6 separate regions of the Homo sapiens genome follow, and all the other regions are linked to region 1. Evidence: promoter capture Hi-C in 16 types of primary human blood cells and fetal thymus (Javierre and others, 2016). All regions are on one chromosome and are shown on one strand. Each heading gives the region's core, a stretch centred on a gene start or on the middle of the fragment in contact. The rest is flanking DNA. Distances are from core to core; before and after follow the strand shown. Region 1 holds the start of EPGN (epithelial mitogen). Region 2 has its middle 92 kb from the start of BTC. Region 3 has its middle 110 kb from the start of BTC. Region 4 has its middle 130 kb from the start of BTC. Region 5 has its middle 160 kb from the start of BTC. Region 6 has its middle 170 kb from the start of AREG.

Region 1 (3,089 bases), core at 381-2,880:
TAAAAGTTATTCTATAACCCACATTGATTTCGTTTTGCAAATCAACAGATATTCAAAAAATCAAATGGGTAAAATATTTCGAGACAATCATTTAAAATTTTAAATTATTGGTGACATGAAGAACACTGAGATATGACAATCTTCCTTTATTTGCCTGACTCTGAGTGCAAGACATTGTTTCCTCTGTCCTAAATCAAATTGCCAGCCTTCACATAGCAATCAGGATGCGATTTGCAGAAGAATCATAACCACTCAGTCACAGGTCTTGGTAAGCAACAAGCTTTCCAAGTTTCACCTCTAAGAGTTTAAACAGATTAGAGAAAGAACGCTGATGCTCAAGAGCATCCAGAAGCCACTGTGATAATAATTAAGTGCAAAAGAAAATATATCATTACCATCAACAACAAAAATTGGGTACAAGTGGTTAGGAAATACAGCATATGCTAAAATAACAACAAAAACTCCAAAGCAAACAAGAAAAAAAGGTCATTCCAAAGATGAGGGAAAGTGCTGTTCATCTTGTAGCCATAATGTCTTTGGCATCAAAGCTTATAATCACAGATCAAAATATAATGCTGCTCATCAAGAATGCCAAAATGGGGACAAACTGTCTCTGTACACACAGGGGTTATTGGGAACCAAGCAGAAATGAAGCAGAAAATGTGGCCTGTTTCACATTCAAGACAGTAACTGAAGACAGCTTTTGTCTCATTTGCTTAACTTCCTCCTTTTAAAAAGGCAATTATTTCCTGGCACATTTATCTGTCACTTCAATTTAACAGCATCCTGCTAAAAGAGCTGATTATCTAATAATAAAATATATATTAAAAATGGCCAATATTGCTTTTATCACAATCCAAATTTCTCTCCCAAGTTTTAGAAAAGTCTTGTGAAATATGAAAATGGGAAGAAAATACCTTCTGTTTTGTTAACTGTCCAGTTACCTTGCTGGGCTGTGATTGGAGGTGTTACAGTCACGGCTGCCTCTTCGGTCAGTGCTGTCATTGCTGTATTAAGGGGGCAAAAGCATCTTTAACAGAGAGCCTCCTTCTATGTACAAGCAACAGATGGAAAGTATTCTTATTCTGTTTATTCCAATTTCTATTTTTTTAATTTATTACAGTTGAAATCCATAACGTGACTAGGGCAACATACTTACAGTTTCTCATCCATTCCATTGACTATATTAGGATTAAAGCAAATAAAAACCCAATATTTAAGACCATTGATACATTTACATATTAATTAAAAAATAAGAACCCTATAGTATAGTAGCTAAATGTATCAATTACTCTTCAATTGTATAAAGCAAACATTCTGGAGGTCTCAAAAAAGGTGTCAAAATATATTAGGAAAGGAACATACAGGACATAAGAAACTAAATTAATCCACAGATTCATTACTCTGATCTTTGTCATAAAGAACAACTGTTAGAAGCCAACTTCTCTCTAATGCAGAGAAAATAAATTCTATTCACATTTTACACTGATATAAAGTTAACAAAACAAAAGGAAATTACCTACCGTTGAATAAAAGATAGACTGATATTGGAACTCCCAAAGCCATTTCCTGTAGTTGCTTAACTTTCTTTCTCTTATCCTTCTAGACTGACGGGTGGAAGGTTTTTATTGAGCTCTCTGAGTCTTTGTTGCATTTATATTTCATGAAGCGTCATCTGGCAGTTCTTACCAATCAAAAAAATATGTACTTCTGGCAGCAGCAGAAAGCCTCTGGGCGCTCACGCACTTGGTTAGGATACCTGTATTATCTAGCAATGTGATCAAGTTTTCTTTTGAAACACTGGTTTCCTGTTACCTGTGGGCATAATCATGTATGTAAAAGTACTTAAAACAACAAGAACAAAATGTAATTTCAGGAAAGGCTCCCATTGGTGTGAAGAGAACTATACCAGCTCAAACTATGCTAGAAACCTATACGGGAGTTCAACAAACATAACTGCAAATTAGGAAGCAGCATAACCTGTTTCTAAAAGAAATATACCTGAAACTATAGTTGGTTATACCACCTTTTATTACAGACTATAAGTTCCATTTCAAATCAAGATAATTTGTTAATTTAGTTGCAGAGAACAGTTAAATTTGTGAAAACACAGAGGTTTCATATTCCATTTTAGTGTTTGTTTCTTAGTGTTACTATGACAAGTGCTGTAAATAAAATTATTTTTAATAGTATAATATTCACCTTTCTGTCATCCTGCTATTTAACATTTTTCTGAGTAAATGAAATGGGCTGCCATATTCCAGGAACAACAATGCTTAAATCTGCATCCCAATGATTAAGCTACAGAGAACCAGTAAAGTACCAACATAATGATAATAGCAATAATAATAATATTAAAATTCTCCATTAAGAGAAAATTAAGATGACATTTAGTTTGGATACATCCAATGAATAGAAAGTTTCTAAGTTAATACAACATTCAAATTATTTCTCAAGTTCATCTAGTTGTAATTATTAAAGTGGCACTTTAAAGGCCAAAATATGTCATTACAGCTACTATATTTTACAACTACAGAAATTTTCACTTGCCCCAAATTAATATAAATGATTTATAAATATATCTTCCTGAGGCATTGAGTCTTTCTGTCTGGAATTTCAATTCCTTGTATTTTCTTGAAACTTGAAACCTCAAAACCCTAAAAACATATTCAAGTCAAGATAGGTTATCTTTTGCATCATGTCCACTCAGCAAATTAGATTTACCAGAAAGGAGCCCTTTCACTATTCAAATATAAATGTGGTGTTAGAAATCACACAAGAACAAGCTTGTTGAACTCATTATAACTTGGGCAATCACTTGCCACAGGAGTCATCATTTTAAAGTTAAAATAATATAATAGTACTTGGCTCGCTTTAAATGTGTCTACATTTTGCATTTCTACTTTTGTAGGTTTTTAAAAAACTGTTGATTACTAAGTCGATTTCTAGATAATATATTTCCCAGGCAAATAACATTTGAATTATAAATTGAACAATCGTCTTTGCACCATTGCTGAGAATTTAAAAAGAAATCATTTACAAAAGATTAAATAAACCATCACAATTCTTTTTGTAGTTTCTGGAGGGAG
Region 2 (3,089 bases), core at 174-2,673, 390 kb before region 1:
TGTCATTCCACATATTTGGCATTCAAGAAAAGATGTTGGTTACAAGTTTAACAGATTGACAGAATTTTATGCTGTCTTCCTTCTCTGATGCATTCTTGCATCCTCCCTTGCTTTGTAGTTACTTCTGTGCATATAATTTTCTACTAGTTTTTAACCTCTGTAAGGGCAAGAAATATATCTTCTGATTTTTTTTTAATTTCCCACTGAAAGTAGCACAGTACCTAGCACAAAGAAAGGAGATAATCAAATACATGTTGAATTAATTGCTGTGGGTGCTAGTTTGGATACTAATTGAACTTCTGTCATCAACAAACTGAAAGCACCGTTGTTTAAACAAAATAGAAGTTTAGTAATATTTTTCTGTCATGTAACAGCTGAAAAGTAGGTGGCTTTGTTTCATGATGTCATTCAAAGAACCAGGATCCTTTAATCCCATGGCTTTATTACTCCCTAGGGATTTGCCTTCATCTTGGGGTGGTCAATGTTGTTCAGTCCAAGGAGTGAGGAAAAGAGCAGTGTAGGGGTTGCAGTTTCCTTTGGGGAATAGCTTCTGCTCACACACTCTTGGCCAACACTCAACCACACAAACTCACTTAGCTGGGAGAAGTGGACTGTAGAAGAGCAGCCATTCACTCAACTAATACTCAGAGATATAAAGAAAGAAGGAGAGAACGCTGTTGTGAAATGATTAGAAGTCTCAGCACACTTTGCTAATTCTGGAATATTCACCCAACACTTACTTTGTGTGCCTTAAGTGCTTCTTAAGAATAGAGATTAGATGGGAAAGGAGAGGATGAGAATTTTGACTCTAGCACCCTCCTGACATAAGGAGGCTTTGTGTGCCTCAGCCTCTGAACCAGGACCTCTATGACTGACACCCAGCTATTCCAGGAAGTCACAGATCCTCAGGTGATTTTTGGTCTGAGGCCAAATGGCCTGTGCCATCCATACCTTGAAAGCATTTTTTTTCCCCATGAAAGAAAAATGTAAAGGCAAAGGGGAGCTGGAATTACATGTTAAACATGGTATGATCCTTCAAGAAATAAATGTGCATATTTTTGTTTCTGATGCAGTTCTACCAAATATAGAAAGCATTTCAGAATTCTCTAAGAGCAATCCTAGATTGGAATGTAAATGTAGACTGGAGAAATAATTTTTAGCACAAATAGACAGACACATAAATGTGAACAGTCTTTCTAATTCAGGAGTTTTCCATTTTTAAGTCATGAAAACTTTGCAATTAAAAAATTTTGAAGCATGAATCAAATGACTAAACTTTACTGATGTGAATGTACAAAGTAAATGACAATAAAACTAACAGTCCGTGTTTGGGGACAATCCATGACTGTCGGATAGTCGGAGGTTTTAGAGTTGGAATAACTTTTCTCTTCTTTCTTTGCTTTTTACCTGATTCATGCAATTCAATTATAAGGCAGTCTGCCTGTATGTGGTCACAAAGACTTTCTGTGCTCATTTTTTAGCTTCTTAATTATACTTGAGGATAATTGCCCTAATATAGTATGTAAATGGGAGTGTAATTGTTGAGTTAGGAGAATAGAAAATAACTGATTTCAGAAATAATATTCGTATGAAATGTAATCATATAAAAATTTGAATAATATTACACACATACACACACACATACACACATTATCTTTAAAAAAAATTCCTTAAAAGTCTAGGGTTATTCTTTAGCTGAATCTCTTTGAGTTTGAGGTTAGAATAATTGGGGTACTCTTATTCACCCTGATATGATTTCTCCATGAATGTACCCAAACAACCAGCAGCTGAAGGGATAATGCTGTGTTCACAGACTCTGCAGCCTGGGATCACAGGACACTGACAGAAAGCTGCATTTCCACAAAGCAACCTTTCCCTCTGAAGGCATCTTTCCCCTCTGATGGGTCACTCTGGGGGAGCTGCTCGTGCAGGTCTTAGCACGGCTGCCTCCTGTTACTGAAGTGTCAGCTCTTCTTAAAGAAGCTCACTGTGACTATCTTTCTTAAAGTCACTCTTTACCTTACCCCAGTCACTTGGTGATATCATCATTTGATTGTCCTGTCTGTCTCTGCTTCCATTAGACTGTGAACTTGATGGCAGGAACCATATCTGTAGGGCATAGCTATGTCTCCTGTGCCTAGAACAGTGCTTGGCACTGAACAAGTACAGGATAATTGTTGGTTGGATAAACAAGTGATCCTTGATTGTGATTTATACTTCATCCTGGTGACTTTTACTTTACTATATCTTCACAATGAAAAGTGTGATTATTGTAAATGGCACATTTATTACTTAGGAGATGCAGCTATTGAAGGAGAGGCCCAGAGAATTTAGGCAATGTTCCCAAGGCACACAGGATGTGTGCAGCTGGAATCACAGGCCAAGTCCTTCCTAGTCTAGGACTCCTTCTCTTTCAGCTCCCTCAAGTTGCCTCCCAATCTGATGAGAATCCAGTGATGTAAGGTATGTGAAAATACCTTGGAGAGTGTAATGGATTATGGAGGAGATATCTTTATATATTTTTTAGTATACAAAATTCTCACTGTTGAAAATAGTTATTTAATGGCAAAGTGTTTTCAGCCTCTAAGTAGAAATAGAGATGCTGTCAGGGTACTCGTTGGAAAAAAACTATGCTAAGACAATGCCTTTCCACAGCAATGTAGCTTAGCGTGTCCATTAATAAATTGGTTCGCAGTTGTGTGAGCTTGCAGAACTGATATTTCTAGTGATCTGAAACAAGTGTGGAGAAGGTGATGAATAGAATTTAGTGAGGTTTTTTGCTTAATCATTGATTTAAATGCATTTTTATATTGTTGAAATCATCACAAATTTACAGAAAAGTTGCAAGAAAAATACATAGACCTTTTTTCTTGAAGCTTTTGAAAGAAAGTTTCCAAACGGGTGTCCCATCATTTCCAAATACATTAGTGTGTATTTCCCACAAAAATGACGTTTCCAATATAACCACAATACAACTATTAAAATCAGAATATTAATAGTTATACATTATTTCCATTGAGTTCTTAGGCCTTATTTAACTGTCTACCCCATAGCAAAATAATTTTATAAATTGAGTTTGTATTTCATTT
Region 3 (3,089 bases), core at 373-2,872, 370 kb before region 1:
TATGAACATCCAGACACTAATGAACATCCACAGGCATCAAGACCATCCAGGAAAACACGACCTCACCAAATGAATTAAGGTACTCACCAGATACTAATCCTGGAGAGGCAGAGATATGTGACCTTTCAGAAAGAGAATTCAAAATAGTTATTTGAGGAAGCTCAATGAAATTAAATATAACACAGAGAAGGAACTCAGCATTCTATCATATAAATTTAACAAAGAGATAGAAATAACTTAAAAGAATCAAGCAGAAATACTGGAGCTGAAAAATGCAATTGACATAGTAAATAATGGATCAGAATCTTTTAATAGCAGAATCGATCAAGCAGAAGACAGAATTGGTCAGTTTGAAGACAGGCTACTTGAAAATTCAGACTCAGAAGAGACAAAAGAAAAAAGAAGAGAAAATAATGAAGGATGCCTATATGATCTAGAAAATAGCCTTAAAAGGGCAAATTGTAGTGTATTGGCCTTAAAAGAGGATCTTAAACAAGAGATCAGAGTAGAAAGTTTATTCAAAGAGATAATAACAAAGAACTTCTCAAACCTAGAGAAAGATACCAATATTCAAGTACAAGAGGATTATAGAACACCAAGCAGATTTAATCCAAATAAGACTACTTCAAGACATTTAATAATAAAACTCACAAAGGTCAATGATAAAGAAATGATTCTAAAAGCATCAAGAGAAAATTAAAAAAATTAACACACAAGGGAGCTCTAATATGTCTGGCAGTAGACTTCTCCATTGAAATCTTACAGGCCTGGAGAGACTGGCATGCCATATTTAAAGTGTTGAGGCAAAAACGTTTGCCCTAGAATAGTGTATCCAATGAAAATATCCTTCAAATCTGAAGGAAAAATAAAGACTCTCCCAGACAAATAAAAGCTGAGGGATTTTATTAACACCAGACCTGTCCTATGAGAAATGCTAACGAGTGTTCTTTAATCTGAAAGAAAGGGCATTAATGAGCAATAAGAACTCATCTGAAAGTACAGAACTCACTGGTAATATTAAACACACAGTAAAACACTAAGTAATATTACTAATTACTAAACATTACTAATATTAAAACATTATGATTGTGAAGTACAAACAATTCATATCTTTAGTAGAAACACTAAATTGAACTGATCGGAAATAATAACTACAACTTTTCAAGACATAGACAGACATAATATAACAAAACATAAGTAGAAACAACAAAAAGTTAAAAAGCTGGGTGATGAAGCTAAATTTTAGAGCTTTTTTACTTGTCTCTTTGCTTATTAGTTTGTTTACACAATCAATGTTGCCATTAGTTTAAAATACCAAGATATAAAATATTATTTGCAAGCCTAATGGTAACCACAAATCAAAAAGCATGCAACAGATACACAAAATGTAAAAAGCAAGAAATTGGAACATACCACCAGAGAAAATCACCTTCACTGAAAGAAATTCAGGAAGAAAGAAAAGAAACAAAACAGACAGAAAACAAATAACAAGATGGCAGGAGTAAGTCTTTACTTATTAATAATAACACGGAATATAAATTGACTAAACTTTCCAAAGAAAGACATAGAGTAGCTGAATAGATTTAAAAAAGGAAGACCCAACTATTGGTTGCTTACAAGAAAGACATTTCAACTATAAAGACAGACACAGATTAAAAAGAAAGGGAAGGAAAAAGATATTCCATGCAAATGGAAACCAAAAAGAGCAAAAGTAGCTATACTTATATTGGACAAAATGATTTCAAAACAAAAAATAAAAACTATATAGAGACAAAGAAGGTCATTATATAATGATAAAGGAATCAATTCAGAAAGAGAATATAACAATTGTAAATGTATGTGCACCAAACACTGGAGCACCCAGATATATAAAGCAAATATTATTAGAGCTAAAGAGAGAGATAAACCCCAATACAGTAATAGCTGGAGACTCCAAAACCTCACTTTCAGCATTGGACAGATCATCCAGACTGAAAACCAACAAAGAAATATCAGGCTTACTCTGCACTCTAGACAAATGGACCTAATAGATATTTACAGAACATTTCATTCACAAGCTGCAGAATACACTTTCTTTTCCCCAACACATGGGGAAACAAGTCTTAAAACATTCAAAAAATTAAAATCATATTAAGTATCTTCTCTGACAAGAATAAAATAAATGTAGAAATTAATAACAACAGAAACTTTGGAAACTATAAAAACTTATGGAAATTAAACAATAGGCTCTTGAATGACCAGTGGATCAACGAAGGAATTAAGAAGGAGATTGAAAAATTTATTGAAACAAACATTAATGGAAACAAAGCATTACAAAATCTGTGGGATACAGTGAAAGCAGTACTAACAGGAAAGTCTATAGCAATAACTGCCTACTTTAAAAAAGTAGAAAAACTTCAAATAAACAACATAACAATGCATCTTAAAGAACTAGAAAAGCAAGAGCAAAATAAGCCCAAACTTAGTAGAATAAAATAAATAATAATGATCAGAGCAGAAATACATGAAATAAAAATGAAGAAAAATACCAAATCTTACCAAAAGGTTGTTTTTTGAAAAGATAAACAAAATTGACAAACCTTTAGCCAAACTAACTAAGAAAAAAAGACAGAAGACCCAAATACATAAAATCAGAGATGAAAAAGGAGATATTACAACCAATACCACAGAAATTCAAACGATCATTAGTGGCTACTATGAGAAACTATATGCTAATAAGTTGGAAAACCTAGAGGAAATTAATAAATTCTCAGACACATATTACCTTCCAAGACTGAACCATGAAGAAATCCAAAACCTAAACAGACCAATAACAAGTAATGAGATTGAAGCTATAATAAAACGTCTCCCAGCAAAGAAAAACCCAAGACCTGATGCCTTCACTGCTGAATTTTTCCCAACATTTAAAGAAGAATTAATACCAATCCTGCCAAAACTGTTCTGGAAAATAGAGGAGGAGGGAATTCTTCCAAACTCATTCTATGGAGCCAATATTACCCTGTTACCAAAACTCGGCAAAGAAACATCAAAGAAAGAAAACTCCATTCCAATATCCCTGATGAACATTGATGTAAAAATCCTCAACATAA
Region 4 (3,089 bases), core at 438-2,937, 350 kb before region 1:
TTTTGTGCTCTTTAATTTATTTTAGGCACATATGACTTTATATTAATACACTCAACATAAAATCTTTGGTTCATTCTTAAATCACTTAAGTGCCCATTCTTGACAGTATTTTAAGACTACTTATATTTCCATCACTACTTATATTTCCAAGGAGATAGGTTTGTTTCTTTTTATTTGGATTCTATACACAGCAACAATTATGAACTTTATACCCTGTGATTGTTCCAGGCAGAACCTTTAGTAAATAGTTATGCAGGTATCTTGAGAGACCTGGTAAATATGTAGAATCTGGTCACTGGGTCCCTGATAAGGATAATTACTATTAAGTTGGGTTGCCTTCACTGAAGGGCAGACTTCTTTTTAAAAGTGCTTTTCAAATCAAGTCATCATTTGTCTAGTGGGAGGTTGTCTCCTGGAACAAATGGAGTAATCAGTTTTTAGACTTTCTATGTAAGTAAATCCCTTTAGGGTGGAGGGACAGTGGTACAAACTCTTACTCAGATTTTGTCATAATAGTCATTGCACCTGGAGAGTCAATTCATATGAGAACTCAAGGTTAGGCTAAAATTTCTGGGAAGTTAGGATAGGGTGGGGTCAGTGGAAATTAAACATGTTTGTTATATATTAATTTATTTTCTTTACACAAAAACTATGTATGGAAGAATGAGTCACATTCTAGACCCCAAAGTGGCACTCACGGGTCACTTGAACAGAGAGTTTCCTGCAAGATTTCATGATGGGCTGTGCCCCTAGGCCACCAGAATGTGAAATGTAATGGCCTCCATTTCAACTGAGTGAGTCAAACAAAGAAGGAATCTTGCAGTAAGTGACATTTTACACCATTCCTTCGCTTCCAGGACTTGCATTTCATCACATCTATCTCTTACTTGTCTTATCCTGTAACAGTTGAAAATTCCATCTTGTTTTGCTAGCAATTTGTGTCATAGCCAACTTCCACTTTTTGGGTCAAAGATGACTTTGAGGAAAGAGACTGTGGCAACCTGAAAAGATGGTGATGACTCTGAGTAAATGAATGAGGTCTCCAATTGTCACAAGTCAGCAAATATTTGCTGAGACCCAGAGGCTGTAACAGTAGTTAATGACATTGTTCTGTTGCTTTGTAGCTCTGTCAATTTACTGAGACAGAAAATATGATTATGTTACCAGTAGAACCATGGCCTCCAGAGCAGCCCTTTAAAGGCTTAGAAGCCTGTAGGCAAAATGGGTCCTGAAAGAACAATCATCTATTAGTCATGGTATTAAAGTCAGTACTCCAGGCATTTACTCATTTGCAGCTTTTTCTATTTTACAAGTTTAAGTATCTCATAAGATTTCACTTACTCCATAAACCCTTATATTAAAAAAAAAAAAAAGTAAAGAGAAAGCTCATTTCAAGTTTCAAGTAAAACTTTCCAATTTGGCAGAGGTACTAAATTAATTTTCATTAATTACTCAGCATGACAATTATTCACACAGCACCTAGCTCTGGGGTAATGGTAGTGAGCACGTCTGAGCCTGTAGGTCAGGGGTTTCAGAGGTGTGGGTTCAAGTCTCAGCTCTGCATCTGCATAACCTGGAAAAGGTCAAAAACCCATGGTTTTTGTAGTGTACATTTTCAAAGAGTTTTTAATATGTCTGACACTGTTCTGAGTACTTTATATTTAATCTCCATAACAACACTATCAAATAAGTATTGTCTCTATCTTTATTTTAAGGATAGGGAAAGTAAGGCACAGAGAAGTGGAAAACCGTCTAATGGAATGGAGTAAGGAGAAGGCAAAGTAGGATTCCATTCCAAGTAGGATTCCATTCCAAGCAAGCTGCTATAAGAGCTGGTGCTACTGACCACAGTGCTCAATTGCTCTTCATAAGATCCCATGCTACAAACAGTAGAGAAAAAAATCCCCTGGGAATAGTCTGTCTATTCCTCCATAAATTTAGTATCCAATCAGGCCTTGAATCGTAGAAAATTGGATATATCTACTTCAAATATAATAAAGGTAAGGCAGCACTTTTTGAAACTTTTCTTGGGAGTTAAAAAGTTAACTAACATTATTACAGATTTGTAAACAAGGTTTTATTTGACATGGGTCCCAAGAGGCTCATAAATATCTTCCAAAATATTGTGGAGACTTACTGGCTAAATCTCTCACCTGTGGCTTTGGCCAGTGCTGAACTAATGTTTTTTGCTGAGTATGGTCAGTGATTTTTATACTGTTATCCGATCTACTGGGTTTTACCCTGGGGCCCATCTTTTATCACATTATTTTGAAAATCCTAAATTACCTGTAAATAAAAAAGAAATCAATTTGCCTGTGCTCTGCTGAAAATTAGGTTCCGGTTAAACTTTAAAAAAAAAAATCTTTTTCTTATCAATAACCAAACTGTGCTCTTGGAGTTTAATTATTCTAAGACCATACATTGTTCAATGGCCAACCATGGAGTTGAAAAGCCTGATTTCATTTAGTTTATCTATAACCAATGATTTGGAACGTTAAATTTAGCCATATGATAGAATAAGGATGAAGAAAATCATAGGAAAAGTGTATTTTCAATAAGGTGTTTGAGAAGAGAATCAGATCTCTCTCTCTTTATTTTTCTGTCTCTCTTTGTATGTGGGTATCTGTGTGTTTTTTGAAGGTTAAGAAAGATGACCTTTCAAAAGTAAAGAGTAGTCATCAAAAGTCTGTTTAGTTACTAATATCTTCAAAAGTTTCTAGTGTAAAACATCTTTTTTATCCTTTGACTACCTCTTTTGAAATGCATTTGGGATATTGACCTCACCTTTCACCTCACTCCTGTTTCTCATTCTCTTATGACTCATATAACAACTCCACTCCTTCTTTTTCAAAAATGTGTGGCAGTTGTGACGGAAGTACTTCTGAGTCAGTCAGAAGTAGGGAAGAATGCCAAATGGCTGATTCACTCCCCAGAACTTGGAGGAGGAGACAATTAGGGAATTAACTTCAGTTGTGGGGGTAATGGTTTATACAGTGGTTTGTGCAAGCTCACTTACAACCTGTGACATGCAGGAAATTCACCTCAATTTTTTAATTCAAACACCTACACTACTCTTGTCTTAACCTGTT
Region 5 (3,089 bases), core at 171-2,670, 330 kb before region 1:
AACACAGTCATGGGCCAGAAGTTGTGGCAGGTATACACAATTGTGTCTTTAGTCACTATGTTCCAAGTGTTGGCAACAGCACGTATGGCATCTTTCATGCTAAACTTTTGAAAATCTTCCGTATTCACGCCTTTGTTCACTACTGCTAGAATTCAAGAAAGTGTTTTTATATTTACTTTTCATTGATTTAGGGATACCCTGATCACATGGTTGAATTTAATGAGGTCACATTTGGAGAAAAGTACATGGCTTAAACATTATTTTGTTATGATAATTTCAGCTGAAGAATGAGCAGAACAGCTGTCAAGGAATAACAAAATCTTGTAGTTACAATCTAGTTCAGTTTCCTGGCAGTGAGCATGAGTCACTAGTACAAATGTCTATGAAGCCAATCCAAAAACATGTCTCTGGTGATCCATCACTTTTTGTTAGCATAGTAGTGGGCTAGTAAGAGATTTACTCCTTGAAAACAGTGAAGATGCAAGCTTTTGCTTATCACAACAGTTTAACTTAAGCATGTCTGCTGTATTAGCAAATCCCAGCACAGGTATTCTGTCCTAGGCACCCTTAATTCCTGTAGGGGCTGTCTCATCAGCCATAGTCAGTGTCTTTCTGGGGCAATAATGCCAAGACAGTGGTGTTTCATAAGCATTATAGACTTGTGCTGTTGTCAGATTTTCATCAGCTATGACCTTGGCAAATTTGCTAATTAATTTCCCCACCGCTTGGTGATCAGCAGTCACTTTATCATCACAAATCTTTAAAACTTAATGTCATGTGTTTCTTAAATTTCTGCAACCAGTCTGCTGAATATTCATAGTTCCCTTCAAATTTTAGTCCATTGTGATAGATCTTTGCTTGCTTGTTTTCATATAATTAAGTGGCATGTGTTCACTATGATGCTGATAGATCCACTCTTTTTTTTTTTTTTTTTGAGACAGAGTTTCACTCTTGTCACCCAGACTGCATTGCAATGGTGTGATCTCGGCTCACTGCAACCTCCACCTCCTGGGTTCAAGTGATTCTCCTGCTGCAGCCTCCCAAGTAGCTGGGATTACAGGCACCTGCCACCATGCCTGGCTAATTTTTGTATTTTTAGTAGAGACAGAGTTTCATCACGTTGGCCAGGCTCAAACTCCTGCCCTTATGTGATCCCCCCGCCTTGGCCTCCCAAAGTGCTGGATTACAGGCGTGAGCCACTGTGCCCGGCCCCAGATCGACTCTTTCAATACACAATTGAGATCTTCATTTTTAGCTTTATGCAGTGTTTTTCTATTTGTTATTAATTTCTCCTCATCACTTTCAGCATAGAACTTAGAAAGTTTATTCTTCTTTTTCTTCAGGTCATATATGGTATTCTTCCACAAGATGTTTCACACTCCACTGTCCAGTTTATCCCACAACTCAACATTTTATGCTATAAATAAACATAAATGATTCCTCTTATTACAGTTATCCATATGGATATATGCAGCCCTTTTTGACATTTTCAACCATATCTATATGCCACAGAGCAGACAATAAGCAAAAAAACAGAGTGAGTAATGCTTGTAGGTCTTGGCTCCATGTGAGGCACCATGAGGAACTTGCTGTTGGTGTGTCTGGCACGTACAGTTGCCATTTGATTACCTTTTATGGGTGTGCTTGGGTGGGGGAATCTGGGCCTCATGAAAAAGATACATTGTAGCTGAAGGGTGCTGGGAGGGTCTTTTTCCCCTTGGGGTTGCTGAATGAACTGTGTTGTGTGACTGCAGTTTGACTGCAACCCAGCATATGAGGTCACGTGTGGGATTTTCTAATTGCGACATCATGTGGGTGCTCAAAATGTATTACATTTTGGAGCATTTCAGATTTCAAATGTTCATATCACAGACACTCAACCTCATGGACTATCATTCACTGGGAAAACCAAGTTTTATTGTCTATATTTCCCTAATTTGCCTGCTATTTAGAGCTTTCTCCTATGGTTTTAGTAGACTTCTTTCCCTATGTATTTTGTTTATTTGTTTTAGTTTTTTATTTGATGTGATTTTTGGAGTTTTCTTCACTTTCTAGTTAGACCTACAATGCATTAAAATTTGTTGGAATTTGTGTTTTAGTGACTGATATTTTATCAAGAGGGTCCTTGAAACTGGCTTACCATCACATTTATAGAAGCAAAAGTTTGGTGATTGTTTTATTAGTTTTTTTGGCATAATTAGTTTTTATCCTTATTCTTTTTCATATATTAATAGAAGAATGGAATGCTTTAAAATTTTCACTGTATATAGCTTAGGTAATGTTTTATACTACATAAATTTTTCTTCATGATTTTGCCATTTAAATTATTTTTAACTTATTTACAATTGAAGCTTCCCATGCTTTGATTAAGTTATCTAGACCTTGAAGTTGTTTCTTAGCTCTGCTATGACTTATTTAGTGAAAGGCAAATATCCATGCCTATGCTAGATGATGAAACGGGATGCATAGCTCCTGCAGTCAGTGGGGTGGTGGGAGAAATTAAGGTCAGAATCCTGGAACAGATGGATTCTGGTTTGAGTCAGAGCCATGCAATCCAATTTTCCTTTCCCCTAAGAAAAGTGTTTCATTGATGCCAAGTTTAGAAGATTCACCTTGTATCACATTAAGGGGTTTATTGTAAAAAAATTAAATATGTAATTATCAGGTTATGGTTAATCACTTGCTTATTGAATTTACTTTTAAATATATTTAACTTTTATTTTTGGAGCCATAAACTGTTGAACCTTAAGAAATCTAGCATCTGCTCATTATTTTCTTTCACTGAAAAAGAGGCAAAGCCTTGTGAATGTAATGTATTTGAAATATGGTTAAAAACATCTGTTAAAATAAATGTCATCCATAATATATCATTGATACAGCATATACATTTTCAGAAAAAAAATGCTTATTAAAAAAAGGAAAAAGTTATTCCAGACAAAATAACAAATATTATTGTCACATGAAGCTTATCTTTAAAAACACGTAAGCCAACTTCTTTCTATTCCTCAGCTCTTGAATTTTGACTTTTCTCTATTTAGTTACAGGTCAAGTAGACAGCAATATGGTCATCATTTTCAAGCCTGTATAAC
Region 6 (3,089 bases), core at 180-2,679, 310 kb before region 1:
ATGTTACGTACATTATTTTATGCAGTTCTTTCAATAAATGTAATAGGTAGGTAGTGTATCACCCTCATTTTACAGATGAGACACATGCTCAGCAGGGAGCCCAAGGTCACGCCCCTTGTCTTGGGTTGGGCAGACCAGGATTCTAATCAAATCCATCTTGCCCCCAAATTCAGGTTCCTTTCACCACACATAAGTAGAGACCCTTGCTTTTATTGAACAATGGTTGTTAACACATCACTTAAGTAGAGTCTTCTAGAATTTTAGTCAATTTAATATCTATTAAATTTCACTCAAAATAAGGCACACTTAAGATCATCAACAAATTATTGAGACTGAAAGGATATTGGTTAATGGCAGAATGTATGAAGTTCACAATCTATTACTATGATAAGGCAGCTGCCTATTTACTCACTTGTACATAGGCTTTTTTCAGATAATTGCAACTGTAATAAGGAAATTATTCTTTAAACGAGTGCATTAAGGTTATCTAGAAGGAAAGTTTTAATATTATGCATAAATACAAGATACCTAGAAAAAATGAAGAATTTGTGGCCCAGAAAGGATTATTGGGCTACCCATTTATTGATTTATTCACTTACAAATTCAAGGATATTTTTAAATTGAAAATTATGTGCTAGGAATTTTTCTAGATGCTGAAGCCCATGCCAGGGTAATTAAGATTCAGCCCTTCCACTTACCTAATATGTTCAAAACAGTCTACAAATGCCTTCTCTACACCTAAAACTGTTTTAGGCATTTGGCATGCCTTAATGAATCAACAGACAAAGATATATGTTCTCATGAAACTTATATTGTACTGGCAGAGACAAAATATCAACAAATAAATAGGACATATGATGATGATGAAAATTAGGCAAAGAGAGTGGGGAGTATGAAACTAAAGAGATAGGATTAAAATAGGATGATCAGAGAATTCAATGGGAAAGTTATGTGAGTCAAATATTTGAAGGAGATGTGAGTCAAGCAAATATCTTGGGAACAAATATTTCATGAGCCAGGAAGAACAAGCACACAGTCTCCAAGGGGGCAGTGAGTCGGGGTGTTTGAGGAAGAATGATGTGGTCATTGTGACTGCCTGGAGTGAACTGAGCATGGGGGCAGTGGCAGGAGAAGAGATCACAGCTACTACTGGGAACCAGATTGTGTGGAGCTTTGTGGCCAGGTTATAGGTGTTGGCTCTCACTCTCAGGGAGATAGGAAAACATTGCAAGATTATGAGCTGACATGACTCAAATGGGGTTACTCTGACTTCTGTGATTAAAAAAAAAAAAAGCCTATAGGAGGAAAAGAACAGAAACTGTGCACCACTTAGGAATATGATAATAATTCAAGTGAAAGATGATGGCATTTTGGGTAAGGGTGCAAGTGGTGGGAAGAAGTGAGATTCTAGTGATAGGTCACAGAAAGTTCCAACATGCTTGGCCTGGTAGGTTCTGCCTCACAAATACCAACTTTCAGGAAAATAACAAGTATAAATATAATAAGCAATTTCCTGAACATAATGGGAAAGAAATAATCGCAGGCAGACACTTGGGACAGGAGGCTGACACTTGAAAGAAGGGAAGGGCACTGAGTGAGTTTCCTGTCTTTGGAGCTTTTAATCTGAGAGCAGATCCCAATCTGTAACAAACAAGGGCCACTAAAACCTAGACAGTAGCTGTATAACCTCATAGGCTTAATTAACTTCAGGACAGATTTGGGGGGACCTTGGCAATTGTAAAGTGAGTGGGGGTAATCCCAGAAAGGAGAGTCACATAAAGGGAGCTACAAATTCTCTACAGAAAGCCTGCTTACATTTCTGGGTGACACTGAAGAATGCCTGTGTAGAGCAGATTCCAGGCAGTGCACCTAAAGCTAAAAGAACTAAATTCGATATTAGAATTTGGAGCTTGAGTTCAGCCAAGTTAACTATCTGTTACAACAACATATTGATATTCTCTAAGGGAAAATAAGAGAATTCAGAGTCTCTTTAATGTATCATTTTTTAATGACCAGGATACCACATAAAATTATGGGCTATACAAAGAAACAAGAAAGGCCTGGTGCAGTGGCTCACCCCTTTAATCCCAGCACTTTGGGAGTCTGAGGCAGGTGGATCACAAGGTCAGGAGTTCAAGACCTGCCTGGCCCAGATGGTGAAACCCTGTCTCTACTAAAAATACAAAAATTAGCTGGGCGTGATGCCAGGTGCTTGTAATCCCAGCTACTCGGGAGGCTGAGGCAGAGAATTGTTTGAACCTGGGAGGCAGAGGTTGCAGTGAGCCGAGATCGCACCACTGCACTCCAGCCTGGGTGACAGAGCGAGACCCCATCTAAAATAAAAATAAAAATAAACAAGAAAAAAAAAAACAAGAAAATACGTCTCAGATTTAAGAGAAAGGTAGTCAGTAGAAACCAATCCCAAGATGACCAGAATGTTAGAATCAGCAGGCAAAATTTTTAAAGTGGCTATTATAAACATATTTAAAATGTAAAGAATATTCTCATAATAAATGAAAATATAGGACATCTCAGTAAAGAAATAGAAAGTATTTTAAAAGAATAAAAATGAAATTCTGAAACTGAAAAACAGAATATCTAAAATGGAAGAAATCACTAGATGGACTTATCAGCAGATTGGAAATGGCAGAAGAAAGGCGTGCTGAACTTGAAGAAAGATCTATTAAAAATGATCTAATCTGAAGGCCAGAGAGAAAAAAAGATTGCTAAGAAATGTACAGAGGCTCAGGAGCATATGACAATTTAAAAAGTCTAACATACACGTGACTCGAGTCCTAGAAAGGGATGAGGGTTCGAAGATAGCAGAAAACACATATACATATATAATACTCAATGATTTTCCTTTTTTTTTTGAGGCGGAGTTTCACTCTGTCGCCCAGGCTGGAGTGCAGTGGCGCGATCTCGACTCACTGCAAGCTCCGCCTCCCGGGTTCACGCCATTCTCCTGCCTCAGCCTCCCGTGTAGCTGGGACTACAGGTGCGCGCCACCATGCCCGGCTAATTTTTGTATTTTTAGTAGAGACGGGGTTTCACTGTGTTAGCCAGGATGGTCTCGATCTCCTGACCTC

The links. Contacts are between HindIII fragments. The CHiCAGO score rates a contact against its expected background, and 5 or more counts as called.
Region 2: a contact is called between a fragment that was not itself captured here and the fragment with the promoter of EPGN in region 1, in 1 of 17 cell types (M2 macrophages). The highest score is 5.8, in M2 macrophages.
Region 3: a fragment that was not itself captured here is called in contact with the fragment with the promoter of EPGN in region 1 in 8 of 17 cell types (monocytes, M2 macrophages, M0 macrophages and 5 more); the score reaches 12.0 in monocytes.
Region 4: a contact is called between a fragment that was not itself captured here and the fragment with the promoter of EPGN in region 1, in 7 of 17 cell types (monocytes, total CD4 T cells, M0 macrophages and 4 more). The highest score is 10.3, in monocytes.
Region 5: a contact is called between a fragment that was not itself captured here and the fragment with the promoter of EPGN in region 1, in 5 of 17 cell types (monocytes, naive CD4 T cells, non-activated CD4 T cells and 2 more). The highest score is 7.1, in monocytes.
Region 6: a contact is called between a fragment that was not itself captured here and the fragment with the promoter of EPGN in region 1, in 3 of 17 cell types (erythroblasts, monocytes and megakaryocytes). The highest score is 7.9, in erythroblasts.

Annotation. Positions count from the first base shown.
Region 1 is chr4:74,307,011-74,310,099 of GRCh38, reverse strand. It overlaps EPGN (epithelial mitogen), which reads right to left and starts at 1,630. Exons shown (of 5, transcript NM_001270989.2): 1 at 1,524-1,630; 2 at 918-1,007. The coding sequence starts at 1,566. All of the region lies in intron 2 of LOC105377276 (a long non-coding RNA gene), which reads left to right. The HindIII fragment of the contact is 2,238 bases long and covers 551-2,788 here.
Region 2 is chr4:74,701,071-74,704,159 of GRCh38, reverse strand. No RefSeq gene overlaps it. Among named protein-coding and RNA genes, the nearest start is that of BTC, 92 kb to the left of the region's middle. The HindIII fragment of the contact is 2,911 bases long and covers 1-2,878 here.
Region 3 is chr4:74,679,312-74,682,400 of GRCh38, reverse strand. No RefSeq gene overlaps it. Among named protein-coding and RNA genes, the nearest start is that of BTC, 110 kb to the left of the region's middle. The HindIII fragment of the contact is 8,908 bases long and covers 1-3,089 here.
Region 4 is chr4:74,659,760-74,662,848 of GRCh38, reverse strand. No RefSeq gene overlaps it. Among named protein-coding and RNA genes, the nearest start is that of BTC, 130 kb to the left of the region's middle. RefSeq lists enhancers at 2,892-3,089, 2,274-3,089. The HindIII fragment of the contact is 5,885 bases long and covers 1-3,089 here.
Region 5 is chr4:74,637,595-74,640,683 of GRCh38, reverse strand. No RefSeq gene overlaps it. Among named protein-coding and RNA genes, the nearest start is that of BTC, 160 kb to the left of the region's middle. The HindIII fragment of the contact is 1,866 bases long and covers 488-2,353 here.
Region 6 is chr4:74,616,814-74,619,902 of GRCh38, reverse strand. No RefSeq gene overlaps it. Among named protein-coding and RNA genes, the nearest start is that of AREG, 170 kb to the right of the region's middle. The HindIII fragment of the contact is 3,702 bases long and covers 1-3,089 here.